Linked DNA regions of Homo sapiens: all the other regions are linked to region 5. The links are contacts of gene promoters, found by promoter capture Hi-C in blood cells and fetal thymus (Javierre and others, 2016). All regions are on one chromosome and are shown on one strand. Each heading gives the region's core, a stretch centred on a gene start or on the middle of the fragment in contact. The rest is flanking DNA. Distances are from core to core; before and after follow the strand shown.

What was found. The method cuts DNA at HindIII sites, captures the fragments that hold promoters and counts their contacts. A CHiCAGO score of 5 or more calls a contact.
Region 1: a contact is called between a fragment that was not itself captured here and the fragment with the promoter of C1QB in region 5, in 1 of 17 cell types (endothelial precursors). The highest score is 6.7, in endothelial precursors.
Region 2: a fragment that was not itself captured here is called in contact with the fragment with the promoter of C1QB in region 5 in 2 of 17 cell types (erythroblasts and endothelial precursors); the score reaches 8.0 in erythroblasts.
Region 3: a fragment that was not itself captured here is called in contact with the fragment with the promoter of C1QB in region 5 in 1 of 17 cell types (erythroblasts); the score reaches 5.5 in erythroblasts.
Region 4: a contact is called between a fragment that was not itself captured here and the fragment with the promoter of C1QB in region 5, in 1 of 17 cell types (erythroblasts). The highest score is 5.2, in erythroblasts.

The regions. Positions count from the first base shown.
Region 1 is chr1:22,951,805-22,956,287 of GRCh38, reverse strand. LACTBL1 (lactamase beta like 1) reads left to right here. Exons shown (of 8, transcript NM_001289974.2): 7 at 862-967; 8 at 2,264-3,245. The coding sequence ends at 3,245. Among named protein-coding and RNA genes, the nearest start is that of LACTBL1, 19 kb to the left of the region's middle. The HindIII fragment of the contact is 6,484 bases long and covers 1-4,483 here.
Region 2 is chr1:22,395,149-22,399,746 of GRCh38, reverse strand. No RefSeq gene overlaps it. Among named protein-coding and RNA genes, the nearest start is that of ZBTB40, 54 kb to the left of the region's middle. The HindIII fragment of the contact is 4,522 bases long and covers 492-4,598 here.
Region 3 is chr1:22,376,889-22,381,255 of GRCh38, reverse strand. No RefSeq gene overlaps it. Among named protein-coding and RNA genes, the nearest start is that of ZBTB40, 73 kb to the left of the region's middle. The HindIII fragment of the contact is 639 bases long and covers 2,719-3,357 here.
Region 4 is chr1:22,200,724-22,205,035 of GRCh38, reverse strand. No RefSeq gene overlaps it. Among named protein-coding and RNA genes, the nearest start is that of WNT4, 60 kb to the right of the region's middle. The HindIII fragment of the contact is 1,616 bases long and covers 1,362-2,977 here.
Region 5 is chr1:22,650,557-22,655,125 of GRCh38, reverse strand. C1QB (complement C1q B chain) reads right to left here and starts at 1,890. Exons shown (of 3, transcript NM_001378156.1): 1 at 1,823-1,890. The HindIII fragment of the contact is 5,474 bases long and covers 1,435-4,569 here.

The sequences.
Region 1 (4,483 bases), core at 1,611-4,110, 300 kb before region 5:
CAATCCTCCTGCCTCAGCCTCCCAAGAAGCTAGGACTATAGGCACGTGCCACTGAGTCCAGCTAATTATTTATTTTTTGTAGACATAGGGTCTTGCTATGGTGCCAAGGCTGGTCTCAAACTCCAGGCCTCAAGTGATCCTCCCGCCTCAGCCTCCCAGAGTGCTGGGATTACAGGTGTGAGCCACCACACCTGGACCAAACTCTTTTTTTTTTTTTTTTTTTTGAGATGGAGTTTCACTCTGTCACCCAGGCTGGAGTGCAGTGGTGCGATCTCAGCTCACTGCAACCTCCACCTCTCAGGTTCAAGCAATTCCCCTGCCTCAACCTCCTGAGTAGCTGGGATTACAGGCGCATGCCAAGACGTCCAGCTAATTTTTTTGTATTTTTAGAAGAGATGGGGTTTCACCATGTTGGCCAGCGTGGTCTTGAACTCCGACCTCAGGCAATCCGCCCACCTTGGCCTCCCAAAGTGCTGGGATTACAGGTGTGAGCCACCGCGCCCGGCCCCAAACTTTCTATAGTTGATGATAGCAATTATTTTTTGAGCAGTTAGTATGTGCCAGGCACCATACTAAACATTTTATCCAATCTAATCTAATCAGCCCTTGGGTACAAGGATTATTTCCCTTATATTACAGATGAAGGACTGGGACTCAGAGAGGCCCAGTGACCTGCCCAGTGACACACAGGCAGGAAGAGAAGGCAGGACTGGAGTCCACGCTAGGCTGATTTTCTTTTTTAAAAAACTGATTTGTTGTTGTTATCTCTCAACTCACGGAAGGTGGGGAGGGAGTGCACCCAGGGGCCCACCATCCCACCCTCAGCCGGGCCCGGTAAGTCTGACCACTGCTCCTCCCTAGGGCTGCCCAGAAGGCTGCGCTCCACTTCACTGCTGTGGAAGGGCAGCACCCAGGAGGCCCTGAACCTGCTCAAGGACGATGTGCTGGTAGTGGACCCGGGAACCAGGTGAGGAGCATACCCTGATGCCCAGCCTCATGTTAGGAGCCTCCTGGGGAGACACACCTGCCTGGCAAAGAGCCCACATCACCTCATCCTAGGTTGGCAGAGCCGGGAGAGACCTGCTCCCCAGCTGCAAAGGGCAAGACCTAGAGAGGGGAGGCCAGCAAGACAGGGGAGAGCTGGGCCCAGAATCCTGTTCTGTTTGAATGGAATGTTTTTTCCATTTACCCACTTAACATTTATTGAGCACCTACTTTGCCCAGAAGGTGATAAACACCCGGTTTGCTCCTCGTGGAGTTTGCACTCTTGTGAGGGAGACACCGTGAGCAAATAAGCAAGGTGAATACAGATTTTGCCAGGTTGGAAATAAACGGGTTGCTGACCAGATGGGGAGTGGATAGCTGGGTGGCCACTGAACAGAGAAGCCCCACTCTGGGAGCAGTGGGGCTGTGGGGCTGGACAGAGGACAGCTGGCACTCCCCAGCTTCAGGGGCCCCCTTCTGAGCCGCTGGTCAGTGACCCTTTTCCAAATTTGTCCCTCTGCTTCTCCAAATGCTGAACCTCAGGCCCCACTTCCCTTAAGGAAGAAATGATCCAGGAGATGCAGAGAGAGGAGATGCTTGGACATCTTCAGGCTGGAGTCCTCCTCTCAGCTCTGCAAATAACTATGGCAATGTGACCTTGGGTGGTGCACTTTATCTCTGTGAAACTCATCTAACTAATCTTCCTCATCTGCAAAAATAAGGAAGTTGGCCCAGAGTTCAGGAATGCCTAGGAGAATTTGTGAATTTTCACACATCCTTGCACCTTTCTGTTTTAGAGATTCTGAAACTGTATTTGCTCTGGGAAAGAAAAGAGGCCTCTTGCTGGTTACTGGTGTCTGCTACAGCCTGGAAGAAGGGAGGGGTGAGACCTTGCCTCATACATGGTCACTATCATTTTTGTTTCCCCAGAGCAGTGTAAGCCTTTAATTTTCCATTAGATAAGGTAAATCATACTAAAGTGTGAAGGACCAATAAGATTTGTGTGACAGCTTTCCCAGGTGCACCGCTGAGCTCAGCTCTCCTCCATCCTGCTGTATGACCCTGGGCAATTCCCCGCCCCTCTCTGGGCCTTGGTCTTCCCAGATGTAGAAGAGAGTCAGAGTCAGTGCTCCAAAGTCTCTTCCAGGTCTGACCACCTGGGATGCAGGGGAGCAGGTTCCTTCCCAGCCCCGCCCAGTCCCATGAAACTGGTGGCATTTCAGACAGCGCGGGCGGGTGAGGAAGGGCCCCGTCCCACTTGCCACTGCTCTCCTTCCAGATGCCATTACAGCACGCTGGCCTTCTCGCTCCTGGCCCACGTCCTGGCAGCTCACACCGCCCAGGGCGACTACCAGCGCTGGGTCTCGGAGAACGTGCTGGAGCCGCTGGGGATGGCAGACACGGGCTTTGACCTCACGCCCGACGTGCGCGCGCGCCTGGCCGCGGGCTTCTACGGCAGCGGGCGGCCGGCGCCACTCTATGACCTGGGCTGGTACCGGCCGTCGGGCCAGATGTACTCTACCGCCGCCGACCTGGCCAAGCTGGCCGTGGCGCTCCTGGGCGGCGGGCCCCGGCGGCTCCTGCGGCCCGACGCGGCCAAGACGCTGCTGGCGCCGCTGCTGGCCTGCCCGGGCGCCTACTTCGCCAACGAGACGGGCACGCCGTGGGAGTTCCACGCGCAGCGGGGCTACCGCGTGGTGCGCAAGGACGGCGATCTGGACGGCTACGCCGCCACCTTCTCGCTGGTGCCCCCGCTGCGTCTGGGCCTGGTGCTGCTGCTGGCAGGGCCACGGCCGCCCGGGCCCGACCTGGTGGCGCGGGCCTACGATGAGCTCCTGCCCGCCCTGGAGCGCGCCCTCCGGGAGGCCGAGCCCGGCCCGGCTCCGCCGCCCACCGCGCACCCCTTCGCCGGCTACTTCACCTTCGCCAACCTGACCTTCTACGAGGTGCGCGCCGGGCCGGCGGGCGAGCTGCGCCTGCGCCAGTTCGGGCCGCGCGTGGAGGCGCTGGTGCCTCCAGCGTTCCGCACCCTGGCGCTGCGCCACCTGCACGGCCGCGTCTTCCAGCTGCACGTGGCCCACGAGTTCCCCTGCGCACTGCCACTCGGCGACGCGTGGCTCTCGCTCGAGGCCCAGCACGGGCAGCTGGTCAACTTCTACCCCTTGGATCACCACGGGCTGTCACCCGGCTTCGACGTGCCCGGCCTCAACACGTACAGAGTGCTGCGGCTGCGGGGCAAGCCGGTGTTCAAGACCCAGTGACCCCGGGCTCTGCCTGGACCCCCCTGTCCCTGGCCTCCCAGCTTTCTAGAGTAAGGTTTGGAAGGGGAGCCTGTGGGAATGCCTGTTGGAGAACCCGGGTAGTTGGCAAAGTGGAGTAGGGTGATGCTACTCAAAGTGTGGTCTTGGACCACAGCCAGAAATTCAAATTTCTCCACATCTATAGGGGAGGAAGGATTAAGTACAGGCATTAAGAGTAAGCATTTAGAAACTAACAGGCAACCAAAAATTTAAGCATCGAAACAGTAGTTTTGTGCCTGTTGAATCTAAAACAAAATATGGGCTTGTATTTTGTCTTTTAAAAATAAACCTAAGCAACTGGGCGCGGTGGCTCACGCCTGTAATCCCAGCACTTTGGGAGGCCTTGGCGGGCGGATCACTTGAGGTCAGGAGTTCGAGACCAGCCAGGCCAACATGGTGAAACCCCGGCTGTACTAAAAATACAAAAATTAGCCAGGCATGGTGGAGGGTGCCTGTAATCCCAGCTAATGGGGAGGCTGAGACAGGAGAAACGCTTGAACCTGGAAGGCGGAGGTTGCAGTGAGCCAAGATTGCGCCATTGCCTCCAGCCTGGGCAACAGAGTGGGACTCCATCTCAAAAAAAAAAAAAATCAACCTAAGCCTGGGCAACATGGTGAGACCCCCATCTCTACAGAAATAAAATAAAAATTAGCTGGGTGTGGTGTCCTGTAGTCCCAGCTACTCAGGAGGCTGAGGCAGGAGGATCACTTGAGTCTAGGAGTTGGAAGCTGCAGTGACTCGTGTTCGTGCCACTGCACTCCAGCATGAGTGACAGAGCAATACCCTGTCAAAAAAATAAAAATGAAAATCAACCTTATTGAATTATAACTTACATAAAATGAAATACACATGTCTGGAGTACCATTGGGTGATTTTGACAAATATTTATACCCACCACCACAATCAAGATATAGAAAATTTCATCACCCCCAAGATTTCCCCCTACTCCTTTGGAGTCAGTTCTCTTTCTCCCCTAGCCTCAGGCAACTACCGATCTGCTTCCTGTCACTATAGATTAGCTTTGCCTGTTCTAGAATTTCATACAAATGGAACCATATGGTGGAGTCTTTTGTGTCTGTCTTCTTTTGCTCACCACGCTGGTTTTGAGGTTCATTCATGTCTGTGTGTGTATCAATAGTTTATTGCTTTTGTTTTTGTTTTTGTTTTTTTTTTGAGGGAGTCTCACTCTGTCGCCCAGG
Region 2 (4,598 bases), core at 1,503-4,002, 260 kb after region 5:
TAGTTGGTGCATAATAAAACTGTGTTGGGTGACTACATAAATGAACATCCACTGAGGCTGGGTTGAGAGAGTGTATTTATGGGAGCCCTGCAGAGCGAAATGTTTGTTGAATGAATTAACGTGAGGCTCTTACATGTGTCCTTTTGACGGTCAGTTCCTTGAGGGTAGACCCATAGCTTGCTCTTCTTGGTATTTCTCATGGTGCTTTAGTAAGCTGTGTGACCTTAGGCAAGTGACTTAACCTCTCTGGGTTTCAGTTTCTTCATCTGTAAAATGAGAAGAATAATGGTATCCATGTCACAGGGTTGTTGGGAGGATTAAACAAGTTAACGTATGTAAAGCTCGTAGAACATTGCCTGGCACAGAGTAAGTGCTCCTGAAACATTAGCTGTTCTTATCATCCTGATTTTACACGTAGTAGGTGTTTCAAAAGCTGTAAGGCAGGGAATTGAGCAAACAGTGAGTTGTCTCAAGCTGAGCCCAGAGAAGCTTCCTTATATTGCCTTTACTTTTCCCATACTGGGAGCTGGGGAATTGTCCGATAACATGAACTGGATTGAAATTAGAAACCACAGCATGCCGTCAACTCATGCTGAATTTGTGGTCAGCTAAACCCCAAAGCCTTTCTTCACAGCCTTACTGCTCAGCCAGGGAACCCTCATCCTGTATTTGCGGGTTTTTACTTTATTTTTTGTGGTCTTTTGCTTTTTTTTTTTAATGTTCCGGATTATAAAAGTTATACATGCCCACTGTGGAAAGTTTACAATGAGCATAAAATTACAAAGGGCAGGAAAAAAGCAGGTTACACAACAGCATGAATGGCTTGAATCCACTTGCGTAAAATGCTTTTATATATTTATAAAGAGAGATGGGGACAGGCAGGAATTGCAAGAGAGCGAGTGAGAGGCAGGCTTGCAAAGAAGTTCACCAGAGTGTCTGCAGTGGCTGTTCTCTATGGGCTGCATAACGCATGATTTTCATATTCCCCCATATGCTGTTTGATTTTTTTATAACAAACATGTATTACCGTTTTTTGAAAAAACATTTTTTGATAATTATTTTTGAATGGAAATCAGATCATTCATCTCCTCTACTTAAAATGCTCTAAGGGTTCATTCATTCAAGAAATATTCATTGACTAGGGACTAAGTGCTGGGCTTGGTTCTCTCTCCTTCCCTTGTTTTACGGCCCTTGTAGCTCTCATCAGGTGCTCAGAGTATTGTGTTTGGTTTGGTTTGGTTTTTTCCTTCCAGACAGGGTCTCACTCTGTCACCCAGGCTGGAGTGCAGAGGTGCGATCACAGCTCACTACAGCCTCGATCTCCCGGGCTCAAGTGATCCTCCCACCTCAGCCTTCTCAGTAGCTGGGACTACAGGCATGCACTATCACATCTGGCTAATTTTTATATTTTTAGTAGAGACAGGGTTTTGCCATGTTGCCCAGGCTGGTCTTGAACTCCTGGGCTCAAGTGATCAACCTGCCTCGGCCTCCCGAGGTGCTATTACAGGTGTGAGCCACCGCGCCCAGCCCCAGAGTATTGTTCTTTACAGGCTATGGGGTTCATGTGTATCCTTCCATAGAACATCATCAATTCTGTGAGGGCAGAGTCCTATATAATGCCTGTCCCCTCATGGGTATGTCTGTCTTGTACACAGCCACAGGAATGTCTATCTTACACAGCTTCTCCCTAGGTCCTAAAACAACACCTGACATGTAGTAGGTGCTCAATAAATATTTGTTGAACAAATGAAGGAACGTATAAAAGCAAAAATAAAGAAGTAAGGCAAAATCTTTCATCATTCCACCACCCAGAGATCACTGTTAACGTCTTGGCATATTTCTTCCTAAATTTCTTCTATGTCACTGTTTATATTCATATGAATATAGTTGAAAACACATTTTGCACCTTTTTCCTTAACTCAGCCTAACAGCATAAGCATTTCCCATGGTATTAAGAAGCATTATTCTTCTTGAAGTAACAGTCATGGTTCTCAGCCAGAGGCGATTCGGCCCCCCAGGGGACAGTTGGCAATGGCTGGAGACATGTTTGGTTGTTACAACGGGTGGGGTGAGGGGCATCGCTACTGGCTACTAAACGTCCTATGATACACAAAACAGCCCCCAAAACAACAAATTACTGGCCCTAAATGTGGATAGTGCCAAGGTTGAGAATCTGCCTTTAGTAGTTCATCATGAAGACCTATGAGATTTGGCTCCAACACCTTCCTGTTTCCAGTTTTCACCAATACAAAGAAGATTGTGAAAAAGAGCTTGAGACATGCATCTCTACCACACTTTATATTATCTCCACAGGGCAAATGGTGATGCTTGGTTTTTTCAGGAGGTTGAACGAAGGACAACATTGACCTTGCTTGGACTTCGTTTTTGTCAATTTCAGCTGCTTAGTCCCAGCCCTCTGGGCATTCTGTCCTCTGTCACATTTGTGGTCTTTTCCAGCTGCAAGTCATGTCAAGGGAAAATATCCAGACCTCCATGGCCAGGGTGCTTTCTGTGATGAGGGCTGCCCCACCAGCACCTCACCTGTCCAAGATTTCAAACCCTCACTGGGGGAAAACTTGTTTACCATGATCTATAAATAATGTGTGTCATGTGAGCAGAAGAGAAGAATGGAAGCAAGGATGCTGTGTACTTGCTGTGGACATTCAATTTCCAGTTTATACCAAGAAAACTGCAATTGTTCAAGACAATTTGGATGCCTCCTTGGGAAGTGCTTTAGGGGTTTACAATGCTTTCCCTCAATAAGAACATCATCTAGGTGAAAAGCCCTGGTGTGTGTACAAATACATCCTATGCAAAACAATATTCATTCATTCAGCAAATATTTACTGAACCCCTGCTATGTGCCAGGCACTGTTCTATGCTCTATAGACACAGAGATGAAACGAGACAGAGAGAGTCTCTGTCCACGGACAGCCTACTTTCTACGGGGAGCAGGGTCACATAACCAAATTATGTAAAACACAATGTCAGGAAGTAATTAGTGCTTGAAAAAAACATCAAGGACAGGGGACAGAGTGGCAGGGCAGGGAGTACAATTTTGGACAGGATAGTCAGAGATGGGTTCTCTGAGAGGCCATATTTTAAAGTGATCAGAGCTCAGAAAGTGAGTGAACCCTGGGGCTCTCTGAGAGTATAACAAGTGCAAAGGCCCTGAGGCAAAAATGTGCTGGGCATGTATGGGGAGCAGCAAGGGGGCCAGTGCAGTTGGTGTGAAAGGAGCAAAGGGGAAAGTTGTAGGACGTAAGGTTAGAGTGACAGAACAACCAGATCCCATAGGGCCTCGTAGGCCTCGGTGAGGACTTGAAGTTTTGCTCTCCTGGCGTATTTGAGCAAGGTAAGAAAGAGATCTCATGTTCCTTTTTAAAAATCCCTCTGGCTGCTGTATGGAAGATGAACTGTAGCGAGGCGAGGATGCAAGTGGGGAGCCCAGGAAGGGGCAGTTGTAATCTTGCAGATGAGAGGTGATGGTGGCTTGGACTTCATCATAAGGAGTGTGGTGCAGAAGGGCGAGATGTGGTCAGATTTCAGATATATTTTGAAGATGGAGCTGATGGGTTTGCTGATGCATTGCATGTGGGGGAAGGGTGACAGAAAGAGGGGTGGAGAATGACCAACAATTGAGAATTAAATGGGAGCTTTCGGAGATATGAGAGTTCTCTTCTGGGATTTATGTTTCCGTGGCACACCCACAAGCAATGGAGCCCCATGACAGCCAGCCAACCCCTGGCAACTTCCAAATTTCCAGATGCTCATTGATTTGCTGTTGTGTAGACTCTCCCTACTCAAAGTGTGGATGGAGAAAACACAGCATTAGCATCAGCTGGGAACTGGTTAGATGCTCAGGCCTGCCAGGTGATTCGTGTGCTTATTAAAGTGTAAGAAATGGCCGGGCACGATGGCTCACGCCTGTAATCCCAACACTTTGGGAGGCTGAGGAGGGAGGATCACTTGAGGCCAGGAGTTTGAGGCTGCTGTGAGCTATGATCATGCCACTGCACTTCAGCCCCAGTGACAGAGCTAGACTCTGTCTCTAATAAAACACACATACACATACACACACCCCCCGCACACACCCCACACAGACAAAAGTTTAAGAAACACTGATGTAGGTCACATATCTGAAAGGGTGGAATTCTTTATCTTCTCTTTGGGTGTTTTAGATTTTGTGAACATAATGACATTTCTTCTATAAGGAAGGTGATTTTTAAATGACAGCACTGTCGGTGGAGTAGAGAAGAGGAGCGTGTGGGTGAGGGCAAGCCTCAAAGTTAAGGTGAGCATTGACATGCAGATTTGGAAACACTGGCATTTCTCTACTGTCCTTTGGGCAGCTAGAACCACTTTCCTTTCCTGGGATACAGAAGAGCCAGCCTTCACCACAGAGGGGTGAACTGAGAGCTAGCGGCAGGATGTAGAGAAAAGTGGACAGGCTTTGGGGTCAAGCAAACTTCAATTCAAATCCAGGCTCCTCACTCACTAGTTATGTGATTTCACCTCTCTGAGACTCAGTTTTTCTTATATTTAGAATGGGACTAATAGTTTCAACAATATAGAATTATTGTGGTGATTAAATTAGA
Region 3 (4,367 bases), core at 1,789-4,288, 280 kb after region 5:
TATTGTGACTTTTCTTGTTTGTTTTTTCTTTTTTTAATTTTCAGACAGGATCTCACCATGTTGCCCAGGCTGGTCTCGAACTCCTGGCCTCAAGCAATTCTCCCCCCTCGGCCTCCCAAACTGCTGGGCTCATAGGCATGAGCCACTGCACCCAGCTGTCATGACTGTTATGTTGTGTAGAGGGGGATCATTATTATCTCCTAGAGAACATTGAGCTTTTTCCTAGAGCAGCCAAACAACCTACTAGATTCAGACTTATTTGGGTGGTGGTTGGACTCCCATCCAGTCCTCTGAGGCTTCGCCATGTTGATTTGGACCTGTTCAGTGTGTACGCATTTCTGGGATAGGCTGAGACTTGTCCAGGTGGCTCAGATCTCAGTCCAGTTCTCTGAGCCCTGCCATGATTGGAGCTGTCTAACAACCCTTTGAGATTCACAAGGCAAAAATCAACCTCCTCACCTGGGGGATGAGGCATTCAGAGTTCGAAGCCCCAGAGGTGCTCAGGGGAAGAGACCACCTGTAGGGGGCACCTTCCTCACCTGCTGTGAGGGCTAAGGAAGCCCAGATCAGTGATGTTGGAGGCGGGAGGCTGCCCAAGCCTCTTTTCTCCACACAGTGGAGTCATGAGGCCAAAAGTTGACCTCTCCAGCCACACCCTGGCTTGGGCTGAGGTCTCTAGCTCCTGGCCTGCCTCAGGCTCTTCTCCCATGGAGGGGCACCCCACCCCCCACTCCCAGATGACACACACTCTGACTCAGATAGCCTGTCCTCATCCTTCCGGCCGTGACCCAGGGGGCTGTGGTGGGGGTGGAGGAAGGGGAGGAACAGTCCAAGGAAAGGGTGATCCCATCTCTCTTGTCTCTGGGGCTCACCATGAAGTCAGCGGAGTCCCAGCTGCTGATGTCAGGAGCGAATAGGACTAACAACCCACATGTATTGAGTGCTTGCTCTGCACCAGCACCACACAAGTGCCTTACATCCATAGCCTCCTCGAGTCCTTATCATAACCCTTTGAAGCAGGGGTTGAAATGATGCCCATTTCACAGATGAAGAAACTGAGGCCCAGAAATTGAAGTCCCTTGCCCAAGGTCACAAGGCTGGTCACGGCTGAGACAGGACCTCAGAGCTGGCTGCATCTCTCTGTAACCTAGGCTGCTCCAGCAACTGAGCCAGCTCCCAAATGCTCTATTGTGCTCCCTCAAAACCCCCTACCCGCCTAATGCCACACGCAGGTGCAAGACCCCTACCACGGGATGCCCAGAAGAATGAGCCGCCTCCAGCCCCCAACCCAAAAGAGAAGAGGAGCAGATTCCCGGGGGCCCTCCGGCTAAGCAGGCACCAGCCTCCAACCGGAAATTAACTCAAAGGAAGAAGGGAGCCGACTCTGGATGCAGAGAGATGAGGCTGATTGTTTTCTGTTCTTCATTAAGTAACAAAGGGAAAAACCAACTGTGCATGGTGTGTGAGCTTCCCCACCGGCACCACCCCAGACTCCTGGAACATCTTTATCCACTTACCCAGGGATTCAGGAAATTCTCTTCCAAGCCAGTTTTATTGGAGATTTTGGAAGCAAAGCTCACAGTCTCCCAATCAATAACAGATGAACAATGCTCACATTGCATTTTTTGGGGAGGACGTTTAGCCCGGGCTTGTCCCATCTGAAGAGCCTGCCCTTGGACATCCCTATTTGATCAGACATTGCTGGGAAATGAACTTCAGGGCAATTCTAGAAACCAGAGTCATTGGCATGAGGGTGCAGCAGGAAGGGGCGTCCTGGTCTGGGCCAGGCCTGGGGAAGCCCCATGTCTTGCAAAGGTTAGGGTCTGACCCCCCAGGTTCTCCCTGGCCTCAACTCTCTCCCCCGCCTCCTCCCTGGCTTATCCTCCACATGTGCTCTGCATGGGTATCGAATCTGCAGCCCATAAAGAATCAATCAAATCCAGTCTGGGCTCAGCCAAGGGCTGCAGCGCCAAAGTGCTAATGGAGGAAGGCCGGGCAGCCAGAGGGGATGGCAGGCCTGGCGGTGCAGTGGCGATTTCAGCATCAGCCTTCTTCCCACCCACACTCCATCCCATAGATACACGGAGCTGCAGAAGATGGCCCAAGAATGGGAACTGGGACCAACTCGTGATTCTCCATCTCCGCCTTCTCCACAGCTGGAGGGGTTGGGAGGGGTTGTGGGAGGGGAGCAGGGACACCTCCAGGGGACATAACACTTTTGTTACCATCAGACCATCTACAGTGAGAACAAACTACTTAGAGTGGGAAGCAGAGTCCACAGCTCATATCCTTCCTCTCAGCAACACTTATTGAGCACCTACAGCATGCCAGGCAGGGGGAGGGTAAAGTCCAGGCAACTCCCGTTTGCTGGAGTTTACATTCTAGCAGGTTTATTCAGCATCTCTGTCAAGAGAAAAGAAAAACCAAGAAAAACTATATACATTTTGGGACCCATCAAGGCATGACGGTTTTTTCCTAGTGCCATTTTGGAGATTCCATCACTCCCATGGCCAGGTCATTCATGCCATTCCCAACCTGTCTGTCAAAAAATCTGCTAAATATGTTGGCCCTGCCTGAGTCATGCCCATCATCTGGAAGATATTTGTTGAGCACCAACTAGGTTCAGGGCCCTGGTGGACATATGTTCTGGAAGCAAGAGGCAGGCCAGAATTGGAGCACCCAGTGGTGAAAGGCATGCTGAGGGGCTGTAGGAAAGCTTCAGTCTGAAGAGAGGGAGCCCCTCCACAGCAGGGCGGAACCAGCCCAGGTCCACAAGGCACAAATTCTTGTGCAAGCCCAACTCTGCCAGTGAATCACTATGTGACTTTGGGCCAATCTGTGTTCTCCTCTGAACCTCAGTTTCCCCATCTATAAAATGCGATGATGCACATATGAGTGTTCTCCAGGTACGGTCTTGCTTCAGAATCATCTCAGGGTGTGGGAGTTGGTGAAAATGCAGGTTCCTGGGCCCCACAGCAGGCCTCTGGCAAGGGTCCTCAGGAGGTGGGTCTAGGAGTCTGCATTTGTAACACATTCCCCTTGGGGTTTCCGATGTCCCAAAGTTTGAGCAAGACTCCTGGAGGAGACAGTGTCCAAGTGCTTGGCAAACGGGTCAATTCTGCTACAAAAGAAGGCAGCTGATAGGGGTGCAGATGGTCAAGGGAAACTCCCTGGAGGGGGCAGAAATGAGCTGGGCCTGAAAGCCTAATAACAGGAACGATAATCGTGCTATTGCTTGTGAAATGGCTTTCAAGCACAAGCCCTGTGCTAAGTGCTTTATGTGCATTACTTCATTTAACCATCATGATAGCCCTGGAAGAGAAGACTTCTTATCCCCATTTCATAGACGAGGAAGCTTAGGCTCTCCAATGGTTAAGTGACTTGCCCAAGATATTTGGATGCCCTCTGAGACACACTGCCAAATCCTCCCTAACAAAATACCACAGGCTACTCAGGGACCTCCTGAAACCTGGAGCCATAGAGGAGGCCTTTCTGGAACAGAAGGCTTTGGTACCTGAGGCCTAGAGGACAAGAGTGGCTTGTTTCCTAGCATACATATTTCACTCACTCACTCCCTGAATCAGTCATTCACTCACTCGCTGTTTTCTTTCTCCTTTATTAACTCATGTACTTATTCACTTATTAATTCATTTGTTTAATCACCCAGTCTGTTTGCAGCAGTCTGTATTTCTGGACTGTATTCATCAGGATTCTTTTATTATAAGTGGCAGAAACACAACTCAAATTGATTCAAGCGGAAAAAGAAATTTATTAATACTTTTATCTGACATGTCCAAAGGAGAGGACAGCTTCAGTCAGGGCTGGATCTAGGCGCTCAGATGTTATTGTCAAGAAACTCTCCCTACAGCCTTTGGCTCTGCTTTCTTCTGTGTTGGCTTCACTCGTAGGCAGGTTTTTTGTGTTTTCCTTTGCTTGTAAAGTTGCCCACCAGCAGCTGCAGGCCTATGTCCTATCAGCTTAGCCACCTCTGCTCAAGGAAGAGGCCTCTTTCCCAGGAGCTCCAGCAAAAATTCCAGAGGCCTCATATTGGCCTAGCCTGAGTCACATGCTCATCTGTGAGCCAATCACTGTGGTTAGAGGAATCAGGGATCTGACTGGCAGGCCTGGTTCTGGGGTGATGGTGTCAACCCCAGTGAATCACACATACTGAGCATGGAGGAGGGTTAGTTCCCCAAGGAAACTTGGTGTGTGTATTAGGCCGTTCTTGCATTGCTATTCAATACCCGAGACTGGGTGATTTATAAAGAAAAGAGGTTTAATTGGCTCATGGTACTGCAGGCTGTACAGGAAGCATGGTGCCAGCACCTGCCTTTGGTGAGGGCCTCAGGAAGCTTCCAATCATGGCA
Region 4 (4,312 bases), core at 920-3,419, 450 kb after region 5:
CTCACATCTGTAACCCCTGGTTGGGACCAACACAGAGGAGGTGCCAGATGGCTGGGAGGTCCAGGAGTCCTGGTGCAGTGGACACTCTTGTCCTGCGCCCTGGGTCTTCGGGGGAGAAGGACTTGAGACCACCTTTCCTGGATCTTCATCTCAGACCCAGAAGAGCTCTGTCTGCATCTGCCCTTTTGCCTTGAGCAAGTATCTCTCCAAGTCTTGGTTTCCTATCCACGCAATGGAGGCATGGTAATGTTGACCCCCAGGGACTGTCATTAGGAGTAAACGACACCATGTCTGAGAATCACTTCGTGGAAACGCGATCACCCCAGAAGACCCGAACAACCCAGCCCCAGAAGCCAGCTTGGCTCAGGCTGGCCCCACATCTCGGCCAGCAACAGCATCAGCCAGGTGTGCTACAGATCCCACCACAGGCATGCGCCCTGGTGCAGAAGCAGGCATCTGCCTCTAAGACTGCTGCCCGCAGCAACCAGAACAGTTATTTGGACTCAGGCAGGCAGGGCCAGCACCATCAAAGAGGGCCAGGAAATAGAAGATGAATGAATGAAGCAATGACAGCCTAAGCATAATACTATTTTAACTCATTCTAATAAATTTACTGAAATAAAAAACTGTTCAGCTCAAGAGTCAGCAAACTGATCTGTAAAGGGCAAGATGGTAAATATTTTAGGCTTTGAGGACCATACAGTCTCTGTCACAACAAACAAGTGCTGCCGCAGCATAAAACCAGCTGTAGACAATGCATACATGAATGGCCATGTCCGTGTTCCAGTAAAACTTTATTTACAAAACAGCTAGTGGGTCAGATGTGGCCAACCACTCTGGTGGAACCAGCCAAGTTGTAACTACATAAGCTCAGCAGTGTCCTTGAGACTTCCTCATCACCCCTTCATCTGATGGATCACCAGGTCCTCTCTCTTCTTCCTTCTATATAGCATTGTTTCCTTCCCACACCACAACCATTCCCCAGTCTAGCCACATCACCCACGACCTGGAGACTCCAGCAGCTTCCCACCTCTTGACCCTCTGGTCCATCCTCTACTCAGAAGCAAAAGAGATCTATCTCAGTGGCTGATCTGACTGTGTCATTCCCCTTTCCTGGCTCCCATGTCCTGATTGTCACAATCATTCAAGCCTAGATCCCACTGTTGGTCCAGCCTCATGGCTCACTGCCCTCCCCAGCCACCAGGCTCAGCTCTAGCAAGATTGAATATCTCTTCTAGTTCTCCTAACACATCACGCTCAGCCTTCTCCTATGCAAGAACACTTCTCTCCCTCCTCTTCCCCTGGCCAACTCCTATTCATTCTCCAGGTCTCAGGTCGGATGTCACCTACCCTACAAAGCTTTTCTGAGGTGCCCCCACAATACTTCTAGCTTATCTCTAACTTAGAAGTGATCACACTTTTGGCACAGACTACAGTGTGCTCAACAAACCACATCTCCCTCTCTTCCCAGTCACACAGCTAGACTACATTTCCCAGCCTCCTTTGGAGTTGGTGGGGCCATGTTGTTGAATTCTGGCCAATGGAAGAAGGTCAGAAGTGATGGATACCATTCCAGGCCTGGCCTTGACTTCCCACAAGATCCTGCATGCTTGCTCATTGTCCCCATCTTCCAGCTGAATGGAGAGGATTCTGAGGATCTGCAGAAGGGCAGAGCCACCAACAGAAGGAGCCTAAATCCCTGAATCACTTAGATGAGGGCAGCTGAAGAAAGCCACCTGCCCAGAAATCCCACTTTGTATTGAGCTCCTGAAATTTTAGGATTGTTTGTTACAACACTTGGCCTACCCTGACTAAACCAATCTTCAAATGGAATCAACTGTTTATTTGTCCACCATCCCTACTAGACTGTAACTAAGATGCATGCGGGCAGGGACTCATTTAAATCACACAACACCATCTTCCCAGAACTTAGCACTATATCCTGCATATAGTAGAAGCTCAATAAATACTTGTTAATTGGATGAATAAATGACTGAATATAACCTCAGTGGATGGCATAGGCTCCTCGTGTCACCATGGGGACACTGTAGCTCCTGAGAGCCCAGATAAGCTGAGTCCAAGGTGAGGGGCTGAAGTTAACACTTCAGCCTAGGGAGAGCAGCCTGTGCAGATTCCACTCCAGGGGGCTGAGCTCAAGTGATGCCAGGGCCAATGTCACCAACCAAGGAGGGGGCTGAGGGCAGCGTACCCATCCTAGGCTGGGGGTGGCAGCCACAGGAAGACCCTGGAGGTTGGAATCAAGCCAGCACTGGACTAGGCATTAGGAGTCCCAGATTCAGAACAGTTCTTCCCTCAGACTTGCTGCAGGACCTCAGTAAATAACTTTCTCTCTCTGAGCCTCAGTTTTCCCCTTCTGTTAAAAAAAAAAGTGATGCAGAGTGGACTATGAGGCTTTCAAATAGTTCCTAGTGGCAGGACCCCTTTCCCCACTACCCCCCCCAAAAAAAATTCTCTCTGGATTTTCAAAATATAAAACAGATACAAGTGGAATGGCTCTAATTAAAGCTGGGAAAGGGAGTCTGAGCCAGTCCCAAGCATTTTTCTTTATCCTTTTTTGTTTTGTTTTGTTTTTTGAGAAGGAGTCTCACTGTATCGCCCAAGCTGGAGTGCAGTGGTGCGATCTCGACTCACTGCAACCTCCGCCTCCTGGGTTTCAGCAATTCTCCTGCCTCAGCCTCCTGAGTAGGGTAGCTGGGACTACAGGTGCACACCACCACACCCAGCTAATTTTTGTATTTTTAGTAGAGATGGGGTTTCACCATGTTGGCCAGGCTGGTCTCGAACTCCTGACCTCAGGTGATCCATCCACCTCAGCCTCCCCAAGTTCTGGGTTTACAGGCGTGGACCACCACGCCCAGCTCCCAAGCATTTTTCTAAAGCACCTTCTCAGAACCTTGAGCTCCATCCTCTCTGACCCCCGCTAATACTTCCCAGAGTCTCCACCTACAGAGAAGCTTCTGGATCATCCAGCCAAACCTGCAGCTTCTGCTTAAACACCTCCAGTGACAGAGGGCACACTACCTCCTGGACAGGCTCTAGGGCAGCCCTAATGGTCAGATTACCCACCAGCTGCATGCTGCTTCCCTAGACTGTGCATCCCGGGTCTGTGTCATCCAACAGTCTCTGAGTGACCCAGCTAGAGACTGGGCCTTGAGAAGCTGGACTCCAGAAATAATGATAATAATAACAATAATAATAATAGCAGCTAGGCACGGTGGCTCACACCTGTAATCCCAGCACTTTGGGAGGCTGAGGTGGGTGGATCACCTGAGGTTGGGAGTTCGAGACCAGCCTGACCAACATGGAGAAACCCCATCTCTACTAAAAATATAATGTCAGCCAGGCGTGGTGGTGTATGCCTGTAATCCCAGCTACTTGGGAGGCTGAGGCAGGAGAATCGCTTGAACTCGGGAGGCAGAGGTTACAGTGAGCCGAGATCACGCCATTGCCCATTGCACTCCAGCCTGGGCAACAAGAATGAAACTCCATCTCAAAAAATAAAAATAATAATAATAATAGCCAACAGGCTTTGGCAAGCATTTTTCTAAGTACTTTACATATGCAACTCACTAAATCCATATATTAACTCCACAAAGTAGGTACCTGTACTGTGCAAGTTTATGTCACTTGTCTAATGTCATGCAGATAGTAAATGAGAAAGCTGGGACTCAAATCCAGACCATCTGACCACCTATTCTCAATTGCTTCTCTAATGTGTAGAAATGCAGCTGAAATTAAAAGGAGGGTAACCACGTGGTTAATAGCATTAATAATAACAACATAATTAATAATAATAGTAATAGTACTAATAATACTTGATACTTACATAACACTATGTGCTTTTATAAGCTTTTACAAATAATTCATTGATTTAATCCATAAGCAACTCTATGAGAGAGATACTATTATCATCCTCCTTTTATAGGAAAGGAGGAAAATGAGGTGCAGAGAGGTTAAGTAACTTACTCAAGGTCACACAGCTGATAAGTGGTAGAGTTAGGATTTGAACTCAGGCAGTCTGGCTCTGGAGTCTGTGTGTTTAACACAAAATATTTCCCTTCAGTTATAACATATGTTGAACCTACATGCCAGCCCCTGTGCTGGGTGCTCCAGACCCACTCATTTAACCCTCTCAAAGCCCTATGTGGACAGAAAAACAAAATTCAACATCCATTATCCATTCATGATAGAACATACACACACACACACACACACACACACACACACACACACACACACACCAAAAACAAAAAACACCTCTCAGCAAATTAGGAATAGGGGTAAACTTCCT
Region 5 (4,569 bases), core at 641-3,140:
CCATTATCCCCTGTAATTTGATATTCAGCCCCTGAGAATGCACTCTTGCTTTCTTATTTTACAGATGAGGCAACGGGATCAGAGAGGGCAAGCACCTTGATAAAAGTCACACAGCTCCTGTGTGGCTGGGAGTCAAACCCACATCCACTGGATCTTAAAACTCAATGTTATGTTAAGAGGCCACTGTACCTGGTGGTAAAAACATAAACTTTGAAGCCAGACAGCCTGATAAAAGGACTAATGCATGGGACACACCAAGGGTAGTGGTAGGCACATGGTCAGTGTTCGGTGAAAGTGGCTTTTTACCACCACGATGATTGCTGCTCTTGTTAGGCAGCACACATTCACCTGGTGGCGGGAGCCTGTAGTGTCACAAGGAAAGCAACACTCAGCGTTCACATAAGGTCTCTACTGCTTCTTAGCTAAGGGACTTGGGAAATCACTCCTTCTCTCTGGCCACAGTTTACCCTCCTATAAAGTGGGGATAATGCTACTCTCTCCCTCATAGGGTATGTGCGAGGACATGAGTTACAGCTTCCAACAGAGCCTGGCATGTTGGAAATTCTTAATGAATATTAGCTATTTTATTATTATCACTGTCATCCAAGAATTCCTGAGTGGTTGAACAGAAGGGAAGATGGTTGGAGAAGTAAAAAAAGACAATCCCTTTGAAAGACTGTGTTTAGAGGGAGGGGCTCTGTCAGTTGGAGGCAGCAAGGGGTGGAGAGCTGTGACCAGTTGGTGGGGAGAGAGGGTGGGGAGCAGGGTACTGACAGGACTTGGGCTTCCTGGGGAAGCCAGGGGCAGGGGGAGTGGGAAAGTGCTGGTTCTAGCCCATTTCAAAAGCCACCGAGTTTCAGCCTTGGGTTAGGGCTTACAACTCATCTGGTTTAACTGCCTCCTGCCTGTGCCAGCCCATCATCATTGCCAGCGCGGTTTCTCCTGTCCTCCCCCCAGGCTCTGACCTTTCCATCTCCTTCGGTCCAGCAGTCCCTTTCCGCAACATGGAGTCAGGCCCACTTGACTTTAAAGCCCCATCTGCTACCGGCTGCATAACCTCAGGCAAGTGCCTTAACCTCTCTGAGCCTCTTGGCAATGCTGATTTCAACCTGACAGGGCTGCCAGAAGGATGACAGGAGAAGGCGCTTAGAAGAAATAAGGTCCCCCCTGCCCCGTGCAGTGCCACATCCCACTCCCCAGCTGCACAAACATTGCGCTCACTCAGTACTAGCTGAGAACTCATCGTAACTCTACCTGCACATCCCCTTATTTCTTTGGAAGAGTCAAGCTGAGCTTTCTCAGCGAGTATGAGGAAATAAGCAAGGTGTTGGGGAAATGCTGGGCCGGGCAGGAGCGACTGGCTTATAATCCCACTCCTGCCTCTGGTTTACTGATAAATTTTGAGCCAGGGCATGCACTAAGCTTTTGCAAGCTTGATCTCCTGTAAGGCACAGCAGTGCTGAAAGATTCTGTTCTCTGTAGGGGGGCCGGGCTGAGAGAGGTTAGGTGACTTGCCCAAGATAACCAATACATAAGGTGCAGAGCCAGACTCAGCTCAAGTCTCTGCGATGCCAAAGCTCCTATGTGCCAGGCTCCCGCTTTAGGTGGCCTGCCCATCCGCTAGGCCCTGGGTAGCAGCAGACTCCCCAACTCACCCCAGAGATCTGGGTCCCATAGGTCTGGGATTGGGCCCAGCTACCTGCACTGTTAAACAGCCTAACTGGCTCCGAGGCAGGTGACGCAAAGCTCACACTTACGGAATCACCACTTTCTGCCATATTGGCCCTGCCAGCCTCCCCCAGGCGCCAAGCCCCGTCCTCACCTGGGAAGCTGGTGTCCTGTGAGGCCACTGGGCTGAGCAGCAGTGGGACCAGGAGCCGAGAGCCTACTGCCCTCGGTCCGAAGCGGAAGTTCCCTTCCCCAGAGGCGGGAAGGGCTTTCCCCTGACGGTCCCCTCCCATGGACCAGCAGGCTGGCCCCTTTCCCGTCCCCTCACTGTCCCCCCACCCTGCTGCCCTCAGGCAGTTTCAGGTCCTATTTCTGCAACCCACTGGATTTACTGTAAATGAGACGGGTGGGTGGCAAGTTTGGTTCTGCCAACTCAGCAGCTGTGGGGAGAACACGCTGTCCTGGGGGAACATCCACAGCTCACCCTCCCAGGCTCTCTGACCTCGTGATCTTCTTCTACACTGGGCAGGGGTGTTCCTCAGTGAGCATCATGTGGCGGGCCCGCTGCCTGAGTGCTGGCTTACAGTCAGAGCCTTTGATTCCAATCCCGCCTCTGCCACTTGCCAGTTGATGTGTTGTCAGTCAAGGGAGCCCCAATTTTCTCTGCTATAGGATGGGACCATAATTGTACCTGCTCTACAGATACAGATCTCACAGGCCACTGGGAGGATAATGGAGGAAATGATGGGGGAGGAAGTGTCTGGGGGTAAACTGTAAAGGGCTGTGCACGTGTTCATTGTTAATATCACTTCATGTCCCAGGCTTCCCCTTTCTGGGCTCATCTCTTCTGCTTCCTTCCCATTCTGTGCCCCTGCTCTTTCCCTGTTCTCAGAAAATAATCTCATAATGAATTTTAAATGTGTTCATTATTTATTGATACCCCTCCCTCTGCTTCCAGCAGGGCTGGACGCTGATGACAATAATAGGCCCAGGCAGGGGCCTGTTGCTTCTTCTCGATCCTGGAATCACGCCAAGTTAGGGCCGGAGAGGGGCTGAGGTTACTCGGCCCATCCTCCTCATTTTATATACGAGGAAACTGAGGCCCAGAGGGGAGACCCACCATTTAACAAATATTTAGTGTTTGCTTCCATGTGCACTGAAGAGAGAGCTCTTAGCAAATCAGCCATGGTCCCTGCCCCCATGGGGCCTCCCTTCTACGGGGGGAGACTGGTGTTAAACACGGAATGACATGAGGCTTCATTGCTTCTGTGATAAATGTCACAGAAAGACGTGACTGCTGGGGCCGATGCCTCATGGAGGTGGCAGATGCAGACCTGGAAGCCGGCATCCCTGGCACTAGGATATCAGTCTCTCCCTGTGGCTGCGTCTCAGACGACATGATGACTAGCAAGCACCAGGAGCTGGAGGCCCTCTTGACATCTGTGCTTGGAGATGGAAATTCACTGGGCTTGTGGATGCAGCTTGGTGGAAATTAAGTGTTAACTGCAATGGGTGAACAGGAGGGAAAGATAAGTTTGATAAAACCAAAAGGTCTCTGAGCTCAGTCAACTATAGTCCCGAAGGGACCCAGGCTAGGGTGAAGAGAAGAAACACTGGATTCCACAAAGGGAGAAACGAGTTAGTAGGTTGCAAGTTGAGGGCTTCTGAGCATTCCCAAAGCCGAGTGGCTCTGGGCCTCTAGTTCTTTTTTTTTTTTTTTTTCTTGAGATGGAGTCTCAGTCTGTTGCTCAGGCTGGAGTGCAGTGGTGCGACCTCAGCTCACTAGAACCTCTTCCTCCCAAGTTCAAGCGATTCTCCTGCCTCAGCCTCCCAGGTAGCTGGGACTACAGGTGCATGCCACCAAGCCCAGCTAATTTTTGTATTTTTTTTTAGTAGATACAGGGTTTCACCATGTTGGCCAGGCCGGTCTCAAACTCCTGACCTCAAGTTGATCTGCCTGCCTCGGCCTCCCAAAGTGCTGGGATTACAGGCGTGAGCCACCATGCCCAGCCTCTGGGCCTCTAATTCTTAGGTGGCTAAGGGCAATGGGAAAAGATGGATGTCAATTTGGGGTAGAAGCAGTGAGGCTAAGAACAGGAAGCAGCAGAGGTGGGTTAGGAGCACGGACTTTGGCAGTTTGAATCCCAGCTCTTCGTCTTGCTAACTATGTGGCCACGGGAATGTTTACTGGCCTCAGTTTCCTCGTGTAGAAATGGGAAGCATGAACGCCTATCTCCTGGGGCTGTTTTGGGGGCCAGCGAGGTCCCCCTGCCATGTCCAGGGCCAGGTGAGTGCCCAGCCCTTGGTGGGCACCCACTGCAAACATGGGAACGGTATTACTTATATGAAGAGAAGATGGAATTCTTGGAACCCAGGAGCAAAGAAGCCATGCCTGGATTAGGAGGAGGCCTGGACTTGGGGATCAGGAGCTGAGGGGTCCCTGGGCCTTGACCGCTAATGGGAGCCAGCTGGTCTCTGTACCTACAAAATTTTGGACTCACATCCCTGATTGAGAGTGGAAAATCCCTGATCCCTGCAAAGAGTGGAAAAAGAAACCTACACCCCCTCACCTTCCTGTGGTTGGAAAGGGGTTCCTTGCAGCTTGGGGTGTCTTGTCCTGGCTCCTGCCCCACGTCCACCCCTCCTTGCCTGCCCCACTGAAAAACTCTCCCCCGCCTCCCCTCAGCAAGGCAGACACGTTGGCATTTTCAAAGGCTTGCCCCCCTGATGAAGAGAGAACAACAAGGAAACAATTATGGAAAATAAAAATGGCACAAAATTGTCATTTCCAAAGTACAGGTTTCTGATATGACACTGTGACCTACATAAATGGTGTATTGATTTTTTAAACAAAAGAGAAATGAGAAGAAAGACATATCACCCACAGCTTCGCCCGGCCGA